Regions from separate parts of the Homo sapiens genome. Here all the other regions are linked to region 1. The links are contacts of gene promoters, found by promoter capture Hi-C in human tissues and cell types (Jung and others, 2019). All regions are on one chromosome and are shown on one strand. The core of a region is centred on a gene start or on the middle of the fragment in contact, and the rest is flanking DNA. Distances in the headings are between cores, read along the strand shown.

Region 1 (2,899 bases), core at 1-2,500:
TCCCTGCAACCAGGCATAAAAAGTGCTAAAGACATAAATAGTTTCAAAGTTTGATTCTGTCACTTACTTGCTCCCTGATCTAGAACAAATTGTCAGCTCTAAGACTTAGCTTCCTCCATCTGTTTAAGAGCATCAAGACACCGACCTGGCAGGTCTGTAGATTCTGGACTCCATCCACTGGGCTGCAGGATCAGCGGGAACAAGAGCTGTGGTCTCTCTTGCTCAAGTATACGTCCCTAGAACCTAGCAGAGGACAGGCACGGAGAAGGCGTTCAGAATTTGCTGAATGGACACGTGAATGAAGAACGATCGAATGACTTAGGCGCTTAGTTAAGGAAACATCAGCTCCTGGCCCTTTATCCCTCCTATTTTTGCTGCCTCTGGCCTGTTAGAACGATTAACCCATGATCTGGGCCAAGGGCTTCAGAGCTGAACGTGGGGGTGGCCCGCGCGCCCCCGCTGAGATCTGGGCGCAGAGGCCTGCGGGCCCGAGGTACCCATCTCCGTTGGCCGCCACACTCCATCGTGGGGCGTCGTGCCGCTGACCACCCCTTTCCCCTTGCGTGGATCTCGGTCACAAGATGGCCGGAACAGGAAAGAAGGGGGCATGCTTTCCCGTTCCCTCCCTCCCCCATCCCGGGCAGGGCCCCCAGCCTTGCGCGGCGCCTCAAGTCCCAGGCGCATGGCACCGCCGGGCAGCCGAACCAGCAGACAAAAGCCGAGAGACGCGGGTTCCAGGGGAACCTCGGCGCCCTTCCTTGGAAGGCAAACAGGCAGTGGGGGCAGCGGCGGCTACTCCAGCTGGATCTGCAGAGGCTCGGCTCGCAGCCTGGAGAGGCAGGAGGGCCGGCTTCGCGGGTATCGGGATGCCCCGTCAGCCACCTCCTGTGGGCGCCTGGCGCATCCCCGGTCTCGGCTCACCCCAGCTGCGCGCTCCTGGGCGGGTGCCGGGCGCTGCAGGCGGGCGGGGGCGACACAGGGGACCCAGACCCCAGGGTCGCTGCTGACGCGGGCCGGGCCCGCGGAGGCCGAGGAGCAGCAAAGCGGAGAGAGGCAGGCCGGCTCCTTCTTGCAGGGCGCAGGATGAAACGTGTCTGGTCTGGGCAAGTTGTGGCGAGGCGGGTCGACTGGCGCCGCTCTAGGGCCTTCCAGACTCCGGACCACGGACGACTCAGGATACCCCACCCCCCTCCCGCCCCCTCCCCTCCGCGATCTCCCTCCGGCCTCTTCCCTCGGTGTCCCGGCTCCTCTGGCAACTGGGCGGGACCGCGAGCGTCTAGACCGCAGCGCTAAAATGCGCTCAGCCAATCCGGCAGCTGGCGCAGACACGTGGTTCGGGGGCGCGCTCCGTTGCTGGCCCTGGATGCTAACCCTAGGAAGGCTTTTCAAAGAGAAACCAGATTCGCTCCTACCCGGTTGTTGGTCTGGCCCTCAGCAAGCTAATTTCCCAGAGGAGCTTCAGGTGAATTATCTTCCAAAAAGAGATGCGTTTTAATCGCAGAAGTCTGCAGATGCGAAGGACCTTGAAAAGGCTATCTAATGTGGCCCTGCATTTGAGTGACGTGGAAAACCGAGATTAGGGACTTTTCACCAAAGCCCTCTAGGATTTAAACCCACGTAGGTTTCTGCGTCTCTTTCCGTTATGCCCACTTCAGGATGAAAGGCACGGATCTTTGTTGGTAGAAAGTTAGGCACTGAATTACAGGAGATGTGGGTCCGGAGTAGTGTGCTCATTTATGTAACCTAAAATTGGAACACGTGGGACAAAAGTCAGTATTTTTAAGTAACAAGTAATCCAGAACGTATGTATATACCATCATGAGAAATGAAGGCATCTTTTGCAAAACCTAAGTGTCTAATGCAGCTATATATATATATATATATAATATATATATATATGTTTTTAAATTAGAGAGGAGTAGCTGCAGAACTTTTACTGGACCAACATGCCGTTGTAAAAGTGCCTTTCCTTGTGCTTCTCCCTGACAGAATCAACTTTGTACCATACTTTAGCACAAGGCTTCAAACATAGCAACAGCTAAATATGTATTTATGTTGAATTCCTTGCTTTAGTTTTATTTGAAGCCATAAGGCCAAGATGACCATGATGGGATTTTAAATTGGTCTAATTTTAAAATTATTTTGAAAGAAAATTCAAGATCTCTATAAAAATCCTCTAAGTACTATGGGGAAAGATTTCTAGATAGAAATTTCAGACAATAGGCCGAGCGCAGTGGCTGACGCCTGTAATCCCAGCACTTTGGGAGTCCGAGGCGGGTGTATCACGAGGTCAGGAAATCGAGACCATCATGGCTAACACGGTGAAACGCCGTCTCTATTAAAAATACAAAAAATTAGCCGGGCATGGTGGTGGGCACCTGTAGTCCCAGCTACTCGGGAGGCTGAGGCAGGAGAATGGCGTGAACCTGGGAGGCGGAGCTTGCAGTGAGCCGAGATCGCGCCACTGCACTCCAGCCTGGGCGAGAGAGCGAGGCTCCGTTTCAAAAAAAAAAAAAAGAAAAAAGAAAAGAAAAGAAAAAGAAAGAAAGAAAAAAAAAGAAAGGAATTTCAGACAATATGAGATAGATAGGACCATTGCTCTGCAAAATCCGGTTTTTGCAAACTCGGTAGCTGTCTGTGTGTGTGTGTGAGAGAGAGAGAGAGATGATTGCTTAATTAATATTATTTGTTGACATACCATTTGAGTTACATGTATTTCCCATCCCCACTGTCAGTATATTACCCTACAGGTGTAGAATTGGAATAAGAAGAATCAATTGACTTTGGCATGACTTAGCAGCCATGATGCATTCTTGATCTATGCACAAACCACTTTTACCAATTGTATAATGGTATACATATTTTTAATGATTAAGGTATCTCTCTCGTCGGTCAGACT
Region 2 (3,216 bases), core at 73-2,572, 340 kb after region 1:
AAAGAAAAAACACTCCTTCATTATTTATTGCTTAAACAAGTTTTTCCTTAGATTACTATGCATGATTTTAGAAAATTTTTTAGGACTTTTTTTCCTATTTGCCTCTAACAAGAGTTCTACCTTACAGTGCATACACACATGTATGCACAAGCCAATATTTTGCTCTAATCAAAAAATATATATATATTGAAAAGGCCCTGATTTCACAAAAGCTATATATACTAGAACTAATTGACACCTTCATGTTAAATGAAATCAGCTATTTTCATAAAACTCATTTAATAGAAAGAGTTATAGCTGCAATGAAACCTATAAACTTTAACATACCTGGCTTTTATGGGGAAGTTCTGTGAAATGTCTTTCATTAATTTAATGGAATCATAAACTGGAGCGGACATTATTTGAGAAGCTGCTTGAAAACTAAGATCTGGAAGGAAAAATATTATTAAGGAATCTAGCATAATATTAGACCTTTATAGACATTTCCATGAAATTGAAATACTTGACTCAATTCTTCTTGCCAAGTATTAGTATACAAACATGTTAATACTGTTACATCTGCATTTTTAAAAAGTTTTAAATGTAAAGTTATCACTTATTTCCAAATATAAGCTTTATACTTTTATGAATGACTATTTAATACCTCTTGTTTCCACAAATTACAGTATAATTTCGAGAGAGATATATGAAAAGAAATGCTCTCGCAAAGCTTTTTCTATACTTAAATGAAACATATGACAAAAAGTCAAAAGAATAATGAAGAGGAGTAAAAAGAGCTTTAAAGAGCCAATTCTGAAAAGACCTCTAAGAAAGCTCCACTGTGTTTAACTCAGTAAATAGAAACATTCAATTTCTCTTTCAACATTGTTTTACCTTTGTGCTGAAATAAAATCCTAAACTTAGTATTATTTTATCTGATATGACAATCCTATAAAAAGAAAAATGTGTGTTGCTAACTGTGGTTAGTTTCAAACATGTCAGAAGAATTCATCTTAGTATTATTACTTTGTCAAGAGTCAGAAAAGATTTAAAACTAAATTCTTTCATTACCTACCTCAACAGTGAGGCAGATTGTTTCTCCTTTAGCTTAAGGACAGGATACTCACCCCACCACTGAACCTAACCATCTGGATATCTTACAATGACTTTAAATCAACCTTTCAACACTAGTCTCATTATTTCTGAGTCCCATATTCAGCCCCAAAGTCTGCTTACATGTTTTATATATTCTCTCTACTCAGGCTCAAGCTAGAAATCCTAGAATTATCTTTGACTCCTTTTCACCTTCTAAATATTTATATGCCTTCTATCACTATTTCAGTAATGTCTACCTAGATTTCTTGCTTTTAGTCCATTGAAATACATCTTACACAGACATTAGGGAGTCAACTAGAACTAAGCTGACTATGCATACTCTTTGCTTAAAGGCCTTCAAAAACACCCCATCACTTATACTTTTCTAAATTATGCAAAGGCCCCTTAGAGAACATTTTGAAGGAGGCTTAAAACATAATTATACTTTTTAAAAAGTGCTAAAATAGAGACATAAAAAAGGATCTAAAAATAATTGAAGATACTAGAAAGAGACTATCTGAAATTATGGATTTAGGAATATAAGCTCTATTAGAACTTAGACAAGAGCTTCACAAACCATGCTAAGGGGTTTAAACTTAATACTTTTAATGGATGTGCATGAAATCAGTCCTTAATGATGCAAATGACTTGGCTAGCTAGTCCTATCAACCCCTTCTTACATTCGAAGTCTCTCCAGAAGTATTTACCTTGGAAAAACAGAACTTTCTCAGAGAAGAGGACTGCATACTTTGTTTGCCCCCCGCATCCACTCTTTCCTGCTCCGGGCCCCCAAAAGGCTGGCCTATCTGAACTGCATCAATAAGCTCCCTTGCCCTCAGATTTCTAGTTAGATTCAGCCAATCCAAGTAACTAATATGGGATCAGTAAGCAAGAAAAGAGTAAGGAGTGGAATAGTTACTACCCAGATCCCTTCCTTGATACACAGAGGACAGTCCCTCGGGGTACTACTGCTGTGTCAAGCAGCTCTCTCGACACACTCTCCAGGTTTTGGTAACCACTCTCTCCTCTTGCTCCCTCAAGATTAGGGGTAGAAAATGTTTCCATCTAGTTGCAAATACTGGAATCGAATAATCCATTCCTTGTTGGTTTCCCTCAATCATGCCTGTCTCTGTAAAAAGTCCCTTTATTAAACTTTTTAGTTTGTGTGTGCCAACATTTTCCTGTGGGGACTAATGTAAGGCCACTATTTGATCAGGGATGTACAAGTGATAAAGCCTGGCTGATTTGACACAAGGCCAAAATCAGATTTTCATTTTAGAAAGATTATCTCAGTAACCTTATTGAGAATGAATTTGAAACTACTACCTCAGTTTAGTGTTATCATGATGTCAAGTGAAAGAACAGTCACAAGGGCTGTGGTATAATAAAAGGAGGTCTAAGCATGAGGTCTAGATGAGACATTAAATAGGAAACTGTACACCAGAAGGGTCCAGGGAGAATAGATTCTATCAGTTCAAAGAGGTAGATTCTTTACAGTAAATCTATCATAACAATGGCCTTGAATCTCATTCTGCTGAATGATTTTTCTATTGATATATTGATTTTCTAATGATACAGGGCTTAGTTGATACAACATTTGTATTAGGTAGGTAAAGAATAGCAGAAGTTATAAAACTTAATAGATTGTGTCTTGCACATTCTGCTATAATTTTAAAATGTAACATTCAATATTCTGTTAAGTGTATATAAAGTTTACCTAGATACCATATGGTACAGTATAAAGAATTTTACTTGGACCAAAATCTTCACTTATTAGCTGTGTGGTAACTGGCACTTAAATAAGATAGTTTATATGAAAGGACTCTGTAAACTATAATCCAGATGAAATATAAAATATTATTTGTATGTTATAAGTAAGTTATACTAGTGAGAGTGGCCTGTAAATATCCTTTTAGTTGTTATTTTAAAAACAGAAAGTAGATTGGTGGTTGCCTACAACTGGGGAGTTGGGAAATGAGGAGTGACTGCTAATGAGGGTGTTAGTTTTTTGGGGGGATGATGAGAATTTTCTAAAATCAACTGTGTTAAGAGTGGCAGCATTCTAAAAATATGCTAAAAACTATTGAATGGTAGAATTTAAAAGGGCAAATTGAATAGTATGTGAACGTATTAGTATGAATA
Region 3 (3,102 bases), core at 107-2,606, 400 kb after region 1:
ACATAAAATATATTTCCCTTTGCCAACAACCTCCAAAAACTCAACCAATTACAGCATCAATTCTAAGTCCAAAATCTCATGTAAATATCGTCAACTTCATTTACAAATTTTATCATCTAAATCATGTATGGGTGAGACTCTGGGTATGATCCATCCTGGGGTAAAATTCTCCCCTGTCCACCTGTGAAACTAGAAAACAAGTTATGTTTCCAAAATGCAATGGAGAGACAGGCATAGGATGGACACTCTAATTCCCAAAGGAAAAAAATAGAAGGAATAAAGGGGTCACTGGTCACAGGCAAGTTCAAAATCCAGCAGGGCAAATTTCCATTATGTTTCAAAGCCTGAGAATAACTCTCTGTGGCCTGATGCTTCACCCTCTGTGCTGCCTGCCATGGTTCTGCTTGCAGAGTTATTCTTTCTTTCTTGAAAGGGCAGCACAATGTTTACAGCCAAGTAGCTCTATAGTCCATTTCCTGCCTATAGAATTTTGGAAGTCCAACAGCCTTCTTTCATTTTGTCTTGTCTCTTTCGGTCCAAGCTGACAGTGTTTCTAATACATTCCCCAAAACTTTGTAAGACTATTGTATATTTCACCAAGAGCCACATCATTACACGGATCCTCCCCAGATCCTTCCTGGATATCCCCACCTTCTTTATACCAAGCTTCTGGGGAGATGGTTGAGGGGACCCATGAATCACATGCTTAACCTGTTCAGCAAAAGGTTGTCCTGCCAGGTTTCTGTCTTTCTCTCCAGAGCACACATTCCCAACACTGAGTTTCCTAGTTGTAACACTCTTTACAATCTGGATAGGCTGAGAACCTCCAAAATCATCAAGTGTTGGTTCCTTTTTCCTTACCTGTTCCTTTTTAAATTTATCTCTTTCTTCTCTCATTTTAATATAGGCAGCGAGGAGAAACCAAGCAGCACTTTTAACACTTTGCTTGGAAATCTTTTCAGCTCATATCCAAGTTCACCAGTTTCAAGATGTTTTCCACAAACTGTAGAAACCAAGTCAGCCGGTATTGTATCACTACATAACAAGGGTTACCTTTCTTCTAGATTCCAATATAATGTCTCTCATTTCCTTCCAAGCCATGGCCAGAACAGACTTCAATGTTCATATTTCTACTGAAATTCTCTTCAGGATGATATAAGTATTCTCTATGATGACAGAAGTTTTTTCAACTATGCCCTTTAATCTCTTCTAAGCCCTCAGCAGAATCACCCTTAATGTCCAGATTTCTGAAGTCTCCTCAAGGCAGTCTAGGCTTTTAATACCAAACTTCTCAAAATTATTCTAGCCTCTGTCCAACTCCACAGCTACTTCTACATTTTGAACTATTTGTTACAGCAGCACCCAACTTTTTGGTCCAAAATCTGTATTAGTTTCCTAGATCTGTTTAACAAATTATGAAAAATTTGGTGACTTAAAACAGAAACTTATTCTCTCACAATTCTGGAGGCCAGAAGTCCAAAATCAAGGTGTTGGCAGGGCTGTGCTCCCTCTGAAGGCTCTAAGGGAGACTGTTCCATCCTGGTGGCTTCAGCTGTTCCTTGGCTTGAGGCTGCCTAACTCCAATCTCTAACTTCACATGGCCTTCTCCTTTTTGCCTGTGTCTTCTCTGCTTCTGTCTCTTAAAATGACATTGGATTTGGGGCCCATCTAGATAATCCAAGATGATCTCATCTCAAGATCCTTACTTACATTAACACAGACATTTTTCCAAATAAGGTAACATTCACAGGTTCTGGGAGTTAGGATGTGGACATATCTTTTTGAGGCCAGCATTCAACCTACTACAGATGCCCCTTGACTTAGGGTTACCTCCCAATAAACCCATTAAGTTGGGTTTATTAAGTATTAAGTTGCAAATACTATAAGTAAAAAATGCATTTAATACCCTGGCAAACCCATAGTAAAGTCAAAAAATCCTAAATTGAACCATGATAAGTTGGGGACAATTTGTACAAGTGATGGGGTTTGTAAATCAGACTGCGGCTAGACTGTCAAGGACCTTAAGGAGCATAACACAGCAGTTCCAACTCTAAGACTCTCAAGGCAAATGTAAAGCCAGATACTGTAACAAGCAGTCTAAGGCTGGAAAAAGTTAGACTGATTTGGAGCTAAGTGTGAGATCAGATCTAGGCAAACAGTTAAATACTGGGGAAAGGATAAAGGAAGGGGATCAAAATTAAGCTAGAATCAGGTATTAAATAAAAACCGTTTTAGCCTCCCACTCAAATGGACAGAGCAGCATGTGGAGTCTTGAATTCTGAACCTTTGCTCCAGAACTGCTGCAGGAATAAATTAGAAAAGCCAAGAGAACCCACAGACCCTCTGAAGGAAATGAATTGCTCCTGTAGGACCTGGGAGATACCCCAAATACTCTGAGTACCCAAACTGTGAGAGTGGGAAAGGGGGATTGTCTGCCCCTGAAAACACACTCTCACTGGGGAACCCGAAGGTGTATATCACTGGAGAAGATTCTGACCTTACCTGGGGCTGAGTCAATTTAGAGAGCCAAGCAAAATACAAGGGTAGAGGAAGCAGCAGGAAAAGCCCTGTGGGCTCTCTGGGTCCCCTAGGAAGCTATTTCTGCCTTGCCTCACAGGGGTCCTCGGGTAGGGCTGCCAGAGGTACTGGGAAGAGGCCACAGGGAGAAGGAAACCTCCAGCTGAACCTTGTAACAATTTCAAAGGAACAAGAAATCTCCTGGCCAGAACTTGGGAGAGGGCATGAATCTGGTGTGCAAACTCCACAGGTGGGGAAGCATGAGAGCCCTATTTGCATTTGCAGCTGGGAGGCTGGTAGCCTGGGGCAAGTTCTCAGCCCTGCTCGCCCACCACCTAAGTTCTCAGCCCTGCTCGCCCACCGCCTGGAAACAGACTCAGTGCTGTTGGGTGGGGCACAGAGGGAGTGAGACTGGCCTTTTGGGTTGCATGGGAGCTGGGTGAGGCCTGTGACTGTAGGCTTTCCCCCACTTCCCTGACAACCTGCATGACAAAGCAGAGGCAGCCATAATCCTCCTGGGAATATAACTCCATTGACCTAGGAATCCCACCCCCATCCCCCACAGCAGTTGCAACAAGACCCACC

The links. The method cuts DNA at HindIII sites, captures the fragments that hold promoters and counts their contacts. A contact is called where the count stands out against the background at its distance.
Region 2: a fragment that was not itself captured here is called in contact with the fragment with the promoter of DZIP1 in region 1 in 1 of the 25 tissues and cell types used here (lymphoblastoid cells).
Region 3: a contact is called between a fragment that was not itself captured here and the fragment with the promoter of DZIP1 in region 1, in 1 of the 25 tissues and cell types used here (dorsolateral prefrontal cortex).

What each region holds. Positions count from the first base shown.
Region 1 is chr13:95,643,456-95,646,354 of GRCh38, forward strand. It overlaps DZIP1 (DAZ interacting zinc finger protein 1), which reads right to left and starts at 1,251. Exons shown (of 23, transcript NM_198968.4): 1 at 922-1,251; 2 at 146-243. RefSeq lists silencers at 864-973, 1,034-1,123, 1,214-1,323 and an enhancer at 1,414-1,463. The HindIII fragment of the contact is 16,516 bases long and covers 1-2,899 here.
Region 2 is chr13:95,986,006-95,989,221 of GRCh38, forward strand. UGGT2 (UDP-glucose glycoprotein glucosyltransferase 2) reads right to left here. Exons shown (of 39, transcript NM_020121.4): 9 at 328-427. Among named protein-coding and RNA genes, the nearest start is that of UGGT2, 66 kb to the right of the region's middle. The HindIII fragment of the contact is 4,549 bases long and covers 1-3,216 here.
Region 3 is chr13:96,038,773-96,041,874 of GRCh38, forward strand. All of the region lies in intron 1 of UGGT2 (UDP-glucose glycoprotein glucosyltransferase 2), which reads right to left. Among named protein-coding and RNA genes, the nearest start is that of UGGT2, 13 kb to the right of the region's middle. RefSeq lists an enhancer at 2,766-3,102. The HindIII fragment of the contact is 6,154 bases long and covers 1-3,102 here.